2 separate regions of the Homo sapiens genome follow, and region 2 is linked to region 1. The links are contacts of gene promoters, found by promoter capture Hi-C in blood cells and fetal thymus (Javierre and others, 2016). All regions are on one chromosome and are shown on one strand. Each heading gives the region's core, a stretch centred on a gene start or on the middle of the fragment in contact. The rest is flanking DNA. Distances are from core to core; before and after follow the strand shown.

Evidence for each region. The method cuts DNA at HindIII sites, captures the fragments that hold promoters and counts their contacts. A CHiCAGO score of 5 or more calls a contact.
Region 2: a contact is called between a fragment that was not itself captured here and the fragment with the promoter of CPNE9 in region 1, in 1 of 17 cell types (neutrophils). The highest score is 5.9, in neutrophils.

Annotation. Positions count from the first base shown.
Region 1 is chr3:9,701,346-9,707,219 of GRCh38, reverse strand. CPNE9 (copine family member 9) reads right to left here and starts at 3,387. Exons shown (of 21, transcript NM_153635.3): 1 at 3,156-3,387; 2 at 2,593-2,633; 3 at 2,425-2,471; 4 at 2,226-2,329; 5 at 1,720-1,756; 6 at 1,500-1,502; 7 at 1,157-1,233. The coding sequence starts at 3,223. MTMR14 (myotubularin related protein 14) reads right to left here. Exons shown (of 19, transcript NM_001077525.3): 19 at 4,827-5,430. The coding sequence ends at 5,247. RefSeq lists an enhancer at 2,838-3,748. The HindIII fragment of the contact is 18,760 bases long and covers 1-4,104 here.
Region 2 is chr3:8,958,864-8,963,725 of GRCh38, reverse strand. It overlaps RAD18 (RAD18 E3 ubiquitin protein ligase), which reads left to right and starts at 254. Exons shown (of 13, transcript NM_020165.4): 1 at 254-391; 2 at 4,725-4,806. The coding sequence starts at 341. RefSeq lists an enhancer at 237-406. The HindIII fragment of the contact is 1,072 bases long and covers 715-1,786 here.

The sequences.
Region 1 (5,874 bases), core at 2,138-4,637:
CACCATGCCTAGCTAAGTTTTTGTATTTTTAGTAGAGACAGGGTTTCACCGTGTTAGCCAGGATGGTCTCGATCTCCTGACCTCGTGATCCGCCTGCCTCAGCCTCCCAAAGTGCTGGGATTACAGGTGTGAGCCACCGCGCCTGGCCCCCAAGGTTTATTCTTAACCCCACAGCTAGCACCATCTTTTGTAAGCCGCCATGTCATGTCACTCCTCCGCTCAGAACCCTCCAGTGACTCCCGTTTCAGAGGAAAGGTGGAAGTCCGCTGCAAGGCCCTGTTAGCTCTTCAACCTCACTTCCTCCTGCCTCCCAGTCACCTGGCTCCAGTCTTGCTGGCCTCCTTGCTGTTCTTTGAATGCACCAGGCTTTTGCACTGGCAGTCTCCTCTGCCTGGAACATTCTTCCTCCACATGTCTGTACCTTACCTCCCTCAGGTTGTTGCTCCAAAGTTACCTGTCCGTGAGGCCTGCTCAACCGCACTGTTGAATCCTGCACCTCCCACTCACCCATTATTTCCAGTTCCGTTGATTCTGCTCTACTTCGTCTCTTTCCCCATAGCACTTAATATTGTCTAATCTATTATGTAATTTACTTATGTCTATTTTGTACTGTCCTCCCCACACAACTAGAGTATCAGCCCCCTGAGGACAAGAACCTTTGTTTTGTTCACCATTGCAAGCTAATCCCCTTTAACAGTGGCTGACATAGGGTATGTATACATAGTGTTTGTGGAATGAATGAAGCCCTGGTGCCTAGAACAGGGTGTGGGATATAAAACATGCTAATGCATATTTAGTGAGTGGATGTAATGGTAATTCCTGAGGATTTGACTTAGTCCGGGGGAGCTTCCCTGTGGAGAGGGGCTTGGAAGTGGACCTTAAAGGCTGAATCAGACTTAGAAAAAGAGTGAGGAGAGAGAGAGAGAAACAGAGAGAGAGAGAGAAAAAAAAAAAAGAAAAGAAAAGACATATCAGGCCTGATACTGACTCGGGCAGAGCACTGGAAATTGGACTTTTCTACGAGGGTGATGGGAGCCGGGGCAGGCTCCTGACCAGGGGCAACCCCAGCCTCCACTTCTATCAGTCAGCGGCATCCTTGGGAGGGAGAATTTGGAAGCCCCCACCCCACTCCCACACCCCTTCCTATTCAGCTTACGTGAGGGTTCGCTCTACTCGGCTGCCCTGGCCTCCAATCACCTCTCCCAGGGCCAGGAACGCTTGTCCCAGGAAATCCTATGCAGGACAAGGAGTCAGCAAGACCAGAAGCTCTTGAGTGCTGAGTCCCAGCCTAGCCCCAGTGATGCTCCTGCACAGGACCAGGGCAGTTCCCAGGCGAATGAGTGGTGCAAGAGCCACGGCCCTACATGGGCTTTAATGGAGGGGGTGTGAAAGAAGGGGTCTGCGAGCAATCTCTGCCTTGTAGTGGGTCATCAGTCCAAGCCTGTTCTCCACAATACCACCCCCACCCCCAACCTCTGCCCAGCCCCATTCAGCCTCACCTTCTGCAGGTCCCAGCAGTGGCAGCCAAGAAGGAAGAGGAACAGTGAGTAGGGGGCACAGGCAGGACACTCAGGCAGGAGGAGAGGGACCAGGAGGGTGGGTTGGGGGCCTGAAGAAGATGGGGTCTGGGTCGAGGGTTGGGAGGAGTTCTGAGAGTCGTTGAACACATCTAAGTGCCTCCTGTGCGCTCCGCCAACCCTCGAGGAAACGTTTGCTCACCGGTTTGGAGATGTTGGTTTTGGAGTCCACGTTGTACCTGGGAAAAGAGTGGAACCGGTGTGGGGTGGGGCTGGGTGGGGGAGAGGGTGGAAAGGGGTCGGGCACCGAGTCTTGGTGAAAATTTTGGGTGGAGGGATGGGCGGCCGTGGACCCGAATTCAGCTTTGGTCTCCTTTTGGGGAGGAGTCAGGGTGGGCTGAGTAGTCAGACGGTCAAGCCTGGGCCGAGGCCAAGTCAGGGGCTGCTGGGGGCAGGGTTGTGTGGAAGGGGTCGGGCCTGAGGTGGAGCTGCGATAGGAGCAGAGTTGTGGGCGGGGCCAGAGCGGGGGACGGAACTGGACCGCATCTCATAAAAGGGCAGGGCTCAGGCTAGAGGGGGCCATTCAGAATGGGAGGGAGGCCTGCGAGAAGAACCAGGCCGGAGGCGAGGCGGGGGTGGGGCCAGCCAGAATTCCGGGCGGATCCAGGTCGGGGGCGGGCCAAGCCAGAATTCCAGGCGGGGCCTCACACATCGAAGCGCAGATTTTGCTTTTCCTCAAAGAAATAGTCGAGGACGAATTTGCGCACGAAGTCTGGGTTCAGCGTGTTATCAATCACCTCGGTCCGTCCGAACTGGGTAGGGGGGTGGAGGGTCAGCGTGGGACGTGCAGACGGGCAGGGGAATTCCCGGGCGACGCCCTGGGCCGGGAGGGGGCTCTGGGACTCACCTCCCGCCACTCCTGGCTGGCCCGGCTCTGCGTGTAAAGCACCACCACTGCAGGTGGGGGCGGGGAGGGAAGGACGTCAGGTCGGCTCCCACCCCTGGCCCCGACTCCACCCGCCCCTGAGTCGCGCCCAGACCCCAAGTTCCCCCTCCCGGTCCTGGAGCCGCCTACTGGGGTCGGACTTGGAGAAGGTATCAAGGTCTAGCAGGTTCCTAGAGAAAAGCAACAGACAGACAGAGTGGATCATCCTGGAGTCCGCCCGCCTCGAGTCGGCTCTGAGCCGGGCACTGAGGAGAGGCATGGGGCCCGCATCGAACCTCTGTCCCCCATGGCTACCCCCAGCCGGGGTCCGCTCTGTCAGCACTCTGGACAGCACCGGAAATCGCTGTCCAGGAACCATGGCTCTGCGGACTGGACGCGAACGCACCCACACTGTCTCCAAGGGCCCAGGAAAGAGGGCTCGCCCCAGAACTTTGTCCTCCTGGGGCCGAGCTCCTACCGGATATCTGCGACCCACCCCCTGAACCCGCAGGCTGAGCCCTTTTTTCGGGGTGGGGCTGCCCAAGACCCCCCGCTTCTCGATCCCACCAGCTACTCGCCCTGTCATCAGCTGTGATTTTCCAGCCAATTTCGCCTCTCCCCGGGGGTCTAGCCCCTGCCCAGGCTGAGCCCCGCGGCTGGCTGGGGCTGGGGCAGTGCCAGTGCCTAAGCCCTCCCCAGCGCGGCCCGCTCACCGGCAGGACACGGTAATTTCAATCTTGGTGGCCGGGACGCTGCGCTCGGAGGCTCCGCCGAGAGACATGGCTGGTCGGGCGACCAGAGCCGCAGGAGGCTGCGAGACCAGGGCTGCTGGGGCTAGGGGCGACGGCAGCGGCGGGGCCGGCCCATGTGCCGCGGTGTCGGCGGCGGCGGCGGCTGCACTCGCTCCAGCCCTGCGTGCGCTCCAGCCGCTCGCGCCCTGACAGTGGCCGCCGGCGGCAGCGGCTCCAGATGGCAGCACAGCCCCGCCCGGCCCTGCGGGCGGCCCCCGCCCCATTGGAGCAGCCTGGAGCCAGCGGGGAACCTCACCCCGACTCCCAACTCCAACCCACACCTTGGTAGAGTCTGCCCTGCGCAAGTCTCTGGGGTGGAAACCCAAGCCCCCTAGAGTTGTCCATGATGCTGAAACATTTGGGGCACCTGGTGGGCACTGGAATTGTTGCCTCTTACTGAGCCACTCCCTTAGTGTTTCTGTCTTTTCCCACTCCCAGCCTGCCTAGGTCTCTGAATAGGAAAAGTACATCTCTTAGTAGCTGTGTGACCTTGGACAAGTTACTCAACATCTCTGTGGCTCAACCGTGAAAGGCCGTCAGAAAGGCCTTTAACAGCAGCTACTTTAGGTGCTGTAAAATTTTACTGAGATAACCCAAGGAAAACACTTAGCACACAGCAAGTGCTCAGTAAACATTCACTGGTATTTATGATTTGTCCTCTGGGTATTCACAATGATGACAGTAAATGGTGGCTGTTGAGCACCGTGCAAAGCTGTCTGCCCATGCCTTTAACCCTCACGACTTTCATGGCGTTACAGATGCGGACACACTCTCATGACGCAATCTACTGTAGGTTACACTGTAGAAGAGGGTGGTGGTCAGCCAGGCTCTCACCCACCACACATGCACACCAATTGCTATCTCCAAAGCTTCAGAAGCCAGTCCTTCCTCCATAGGCAGGGCTCAAGGTAGGGGATGCAGGTCACCCGTACCAGGACCCTGCTGCCTACAGAACTTGTTAAAGATGAAGATCCTGGTCAGGTACGGTGGCTCATGCCTGTAATCCCAGCACTTTAGGAGGCCAAGGCAGGCAGATCACTTGAGCTCAGGAGTTTGAGACTGGCCTGGCCAACATGGTGAAACCCCATCTCTACTAAATACAAAAATTAGCTGGGGATGGTGGCACGTTCACGTAGCTACTCAGGAGACTGAGGCAGGAGGATCGCTTGAACCCAGGAGGCAGGGGTTGCAGTGAGCCAAGATTGTGCCATTGCACTCCAGCTTGGGTAACAGTGAGACTCCATCTCAAAAAATCTGAAAAAAATGAAGATCCTCCAGCTCCTAATTCCCAGGCAACTTCCTTAGCAACCCTAAGGCTAAAGCTCAGGCAGCCCTGGGAATGTGCACAGCTCATCAGGCTCTCTAGGTGACTAGGACCTGCTTAGGCCCGAGAACCACTACTCTCAACAGTCTTGAGTGTTGTCCCCACTGCAGGGACTACCATGGCTCATGAGTGGAGAGGTATACCTGTCGCCAGTTCTCTTCCTGTTTCACCTGCCCTCCACATAAAAACCCCTTGTCCAGCACAAGGAAGGACAATGAGAACCTTCCTAGTAGCTCCACAAAGACAATAACCAAATGATGACACAAGAGTGGCTATTCAAAAAGACTTTGATTTTATTTTGTGATCTGTGTCAAACTGCCTCATTCTCAGTGCAGGTGATCCCTCCTCCCCAGAAACAAGAACTGACAGGTAGGGTCTTTGTGAAGTCATGGCTTCCACAAGGCCCCAGGGAAACCCCACACAGTTCTGAGAGTTGATGGGAATCCCAGCAAAGATGGGGTGGGTGGGAGACAGTGACAAGAAGGGGTGGTGGTCACCAGTCAAGAGGCTGGGGGTTGGAAAACCCTGTCTTTGGCCTTGCTCAGCTTTGGGGCTGCCATGTTCATGATGGAGATGGGGGACTGAAATTTCCCCTGACCTGGAAGTACCCCTTCGGCCAGGCATGGCTTTGATTCTCTGCTAAGGGCTCAGCTGAGAGAGGAGCAGGAAAATGTCATGGGCTGGCTTCTTCACAAGGCATTGCTGCTGATGCTCCGGAGTCCAACACCACGGGCAAATTGCTCCAGCAGGCCCCCGATGGCACCGGAAGGACTGGGGGCTACTGCCCGAAGCCCCACTGTGCTGCTGTACGCAGCCAAGAAGGCTGAGCGCACCTCCTGCAGCCGAGTCTCTCGATCACTCAGGGCTGCAAGCCTATGGGGAGGTCAAGAGAAAGAACAAAGACATTACCCTGGGACAGGACCCAGTATCCTCATCCTCCCTCCCTCCATACCACCTGTCCTTGTGCTTCTTCTGACTGTACAAGGCCAGTGTCTGTCCTACGGCCATGCTATCCTTGTGGTTCAGGCCCCAAATATCTGGCCCTGTTTTCCCTTAAACCATTCCTCTAAGCCCTCAGGCTACTGTTCCCACCTAGAGCAGGAGCTTTTACTGGGACACTAACCTTTTTTTTTTTTTTCTTGAGACAAGGTCTCACTCTATTGCCCAGGCTGGAATGCAGTGACACAATCAGCGCTCACTGTAGCCTCAAGCCATCCTCCCACCTCAGCCCCTCAAGTAGCTGGGACTACAGGCACATGCCACCATGATAGGGTTTTACCATGTTGCCCAGGCTGGTCTCAAACTCCTGGACTCAAC
Region 2 (4,862 bases), core at 1-2,500, 740 kb after region 1:
GGGCGACCCGGAGGGGGGTCATGAGCCTGGACCTTGACAGATCTGGTGAGGTCTGGATTTGGTTTGATTCCTGGCTATCTTTTCTTAATATTCAACTGGCTCTACGCTTTTTAACCATTCACTTTCTTCAAGGTAAGTGCGGCAGAAGCCTGGCGCATGCGCAGTACAAGCCCTTAAGCGGCGCCCCGCCCACATACTACTACAACTTCCGGCAGGCTCCGCGCCCGCCTCTGGCGCGTCGCGGGCTGCTGACGTAATGCGGTAGCGCGGGGAATTTCGAGTGGTGTTGGAGCGCCGGAGGCTAGTGGGTGGCTGACCCCCAGCATCCTCGGGAGCGACCATGGACTCCCTGGCCGAGTCTCGGTGGCCTCCGGGCCTGGCAGTCATGAAGGTGAGTGCTTCGGGGAGTTTGGGAGCTCCCGGGTGTCTGCGGGGGGAGGTCCCTCCCTTTGAGGAGGATGTCCTCGCCTTAAGGAGAAAGGATGAGGCGCGAGCGTCGCACTGGGCCCGGGTATCCGGCTCTGCCCTGCCACTAGCCGACCGCGTGGCTCTGGGTCTCAGTTTACTCCTCTGATAAGTGACAAGGACAAGCCTGGTGAGCTGAGGTTGGCAGTCTTATGGCACCAGCTATTCTGCGATCCAATCCCAACAATAACATGGAGAAAAACAGTTATTCCAAACAATGACATCGACAGCTGTTCTTTACTGAAAGCTTACTTTGTGTCAAGCACTAAACAGTGACACCGGACATGATTTTGGGTGGACACTTTATCAGATAACATGTATGTAATCACGTAGCCAAGCAGGTAGTCTCCTTTACAGGCTCTTTCATTTCTTCTGATTATTCTCAATAAACGTAGTGCTCGTTTGTTCTGACATACTGCCCCAACTCCTCTCTAACACACCTTCACTCTTCTCTAACAATTGCTCATGTCTCTTAAACAGAGATCAGGACTCAGGCTCAGCGCTGATCTTGCATTGCGTCTGATTATTTCACTTAAATAACATTTATTTTTGTGGCCACTTTCTGTTTTGGCAAGGCATACCAGTTTCCATTTACAGTAGTGGTGGGCCCTGGATTTGCTCAAGAGCAGATGCACTTTGCTGTGCTGGATAAAGATCAGTTGCTTGGTGTTTCTTCTTGCTCTGTGATTATTTCCGTTTCTCACAGTGGCTAAGATAGCCTTCTTCTCCCTCAGTTTTGTAGACTTGGGGATTATAATACCTGTCCCACTGACTCATAAATTTGACTTTAGAATTAAGTGAAGGCTAAAGTAAGTAGAAGGCCTTGTTCTTCCTGCTGTCATCAGTGACGTCTAGAGTGCTTGGGGACTTGAGATATCTGCATGATGAGAAGCTGACATTGTGAAATGATCCAGGAAAGCTGTAGTTTTGGAGTTGTGGGCTTGGCACCAGGATGCAGTGGAGAAGAGCACAGATTTGAGTTCCAGTGGTCCTGGGTGAAATCTCCTGTCTGCCTCTTGACTGTATGACCTTCGGTTAGTAACTTAACCTCTCTGAGCCTGAATTTCTTCAACTATAAATTAGAGACAAAAATAACAGTTCATAGGATTGATTAAATAAATTAGTTGATGTATGTGGGCACAGATTCTGCTGTGTATTCACTGTGCTTACTGCAGTGCCTGACACCAAGTGGGTGCTCAAATATTATTTGCTGCTTGATTGAAAGTATCTGGAATGTAGTAAGCATTCAATGAATATATTTTATTATTATTAGCACTGTGTTAAGTGCTTCTTTCCCCTTTTAATTTGTTGTCATGAAGCTTGACTTGGATAAGGAAAGTAAAAGAGCTCTGTAACCTGTAAAGCTCCTGCTTTGTAGATTTAAGCACACTTTACATATTCCCACAATTTCAGTGTTCTTTAGAGGCGGGTTCCATGTCTTCTCTGACTTTGGTATCTCACCACAGCACTGAATGTAGAGTTTGGCACCACAGAGCGTTCAGTGAGTGTTCAACCAGAGAGTTGATTGAGCCCGTATTTTTTTGCTCACATTGGAATCATGGAATCTTAAGGTTAGAAAACCAGCCCCTTTCAGTATTTTAATCTCCTTTATAACACATCTGCCAATTTCTCACCTAATTTTTGCTTGAACTCTTCCAGGCACAAAGAACTATCAGATCCCAGAAGCAGATCTGACTGAAGTTACTTCTTTTATTGAATAGAAGTCTGACTCAGAATCCATGGTTGCTAACTTAGGATTCACAGAAAGACTTTGGAGTCTCAAGTTATTTGTAAAATTTTTGCATGTATGTTTTTCTGAGCAGAGAGTCCATAGTTGTCATCCATTTTTCAAAGGGATCTGTAACCCCAAAAACTTAAGAGTATTTTTGTAATTATTACGTTTTTCCACCCATTTTCTACTTCTCCCTTTCACTTTCTCTCTCTCTAAACTAAAGAAATTTTGGGGAGTCTGCTGACCACTCTCTATTCAGGCATCATTTTTTGTTTAGTTGGTTGAGGCGCATGTGATATGCATGTTACTGTCTTGGAGTGACATGACAAGAAATTTGAACCAGAAATGGCTCATCTGATGTAGTGTCAACTTCCACAATTGTGCTCTGCAGATCTTTCAGAATCATTCCTCCACCAGAAGAGGATGGCATAGATAAGAAAGTGTGATATAATAGACTGGTTCTGGCTTCTGGGCCTGCCTCTGCTCTTAATTGATCTTGAACATAACCCTTTAGATTTTTGTGTCTGTGACAGCTTACCATCCACAATAATGGAAGATTTTGGCATTTTATTATTTCCCTGGTTTTACTTTAACAAAAATTTACTGTTTTTGGCATATTGTAAATGTAATATGTGTACACGGTAGAAAAAAATTAAAATTCAGAATAAGATAAAGGAGAAAAATAAAACCATCCATAATTCTACCACCCAGAGAACCAGTGTTTAACATTTTACCTTATTTTCCTTTGGTTTTTGTGCATTTAAAATTTGGGATCACTGTGGAGTCAACTTCTTGGGTTTGATCCAGCCAACTTAGGAACTCTGTAGACTTTATTTTTAAAATTGGGATACTGATGCTGTGGACTTCATAAGATTGCTATGAAGATTAAACTACAGAGTTGTTATTATTATGTATTATTGGCATAGGTTTGTTTTCTGATTTTTATTTTCCTAGGGCATTAATTATTCTTTGAAAGCATGTTTTTTAATGGCTGCATAATATTTCATCATATGGACCATTAGCGACATTAGTCCTTTTTTGTTTACATTTTTAAAATTCAGGTAATAGGTTCACATGGTTCAAAATACACATAAAATAAAAAGTAAAAGTCTCCTTCTTACCATGTTCCTGGCCCTGATCATTATTTATGACTTCTTGTTTATCTTCTCATTATTTACATTTACAATGAAAATAGAATGCATTCTTTTTTCCTTTTTTTCTTTTTTGAGATAGGGTCTCACTGTCGCCCAGACTGGAATGCAGTGGCAATCACGGCTCACTGCAGCCTTGAACTCCTGGGCTAAAGCAATCCTTCCGCCTCAGCCTCCTGAGTAGCTGGGACTACAGGCATGCGCCACTACTCCCAACGAATTTTTAAATTTTTTATAGACATGGATTTTTGTTATTTTGCCAGGCTGGTCTCAAACTCCTGGACTCAAGCAGTTCTCCTGCCTTGGCCTCCCAAAGTGCTAGGATTACAGAGCCACCATGCTAGGCCTATTAGAATACATTCTTACTCACCTCTTCCTTTTAAACAAACCGTAGCATAGTATATGTACTGTCTATACCTTATTTCCTTTTTTCACTTATCTTGGCAATCTTTTCATATCAGTATGATGGAGAGCTTCCTCTTTTTTTTTTTTTTTTTTGAGACAGTTTCACTCGGTCATGCAGGCTGGAGTATAGTGGTGCGATGTGGGCTCACTGCAACCTACGCCTCCTGGACTCAAGCGATCCTCCCGTCGAGAGCTTCCTCCTTTTAAAAAATATTTCTGTTGAATGGAATAATATTTTATTTTAAACAATTTGAAAGATTTTAGGTTGCCAGAGTAGTTCCGTTCCTGTTTGGATTGCATTCCAGGTTGGCACACATCTCTCTTTCCAAGTTGTCCACTTTCCCTTCCTCTGCTTTCACTGCCCCAGCTCTTTCCAGGCTTCCTCATTTGGCTGCATGTGTAGTACCATGCCGAAAGCACTGGACTGCCAGACGGGAGACAGGAATTTTGGTCTTGGCTTGACTGATGCCTACTATTGTGTGCCTGCTTTTGATACCAGTTTCCTCTTTTGACTAGACAGTTTCTGGAGTTTGGCTTTAACATTCTTTGATTTGATTCTTAACTTGTGTGGTGGCAATGGCCACCTTTCACCCAATAGTGACTATAGGCTAGGTGTTGGAGTCTGAAGAGGAGGAGGCTTGGAGTAAGAGCTGGAAGCGCATTAGAAGTGGAACAGAAGTACAGTAGCCCTTATGTGAAGGGATGACAATATGGCACAAGAATCGGTGTGCCATCATCTTTAGCTGTCTAAAGCAATTTGGGCAACCTGAGACTGAATGTATAAGAGTCATATGAGAGAAGTTTTTATTTATTTGTCAAGATCCCTTGCAGTTTATCTGGAGTTAGCTTTTGAATTTGTGTATTTGACAAAGAGTTTGATTTTTTTTTTAGGGGATAGAGAAAAAGTTTTGTGACAGGACTTCCAATTTTGATGTCTTTCTGATATGTATATATGCATATTTGCATTTCAGACAATAGATGATTTGCTGCGGTGTGGAATTTGCTTCGAGTATTTCAACATTGCAATGATAATACCTCAGTGTTCACATAACTGTAAGTATGTTTTGTTCCTGTGAGTTAGTAAATTGCGATTTTTACATGAGGTAGTG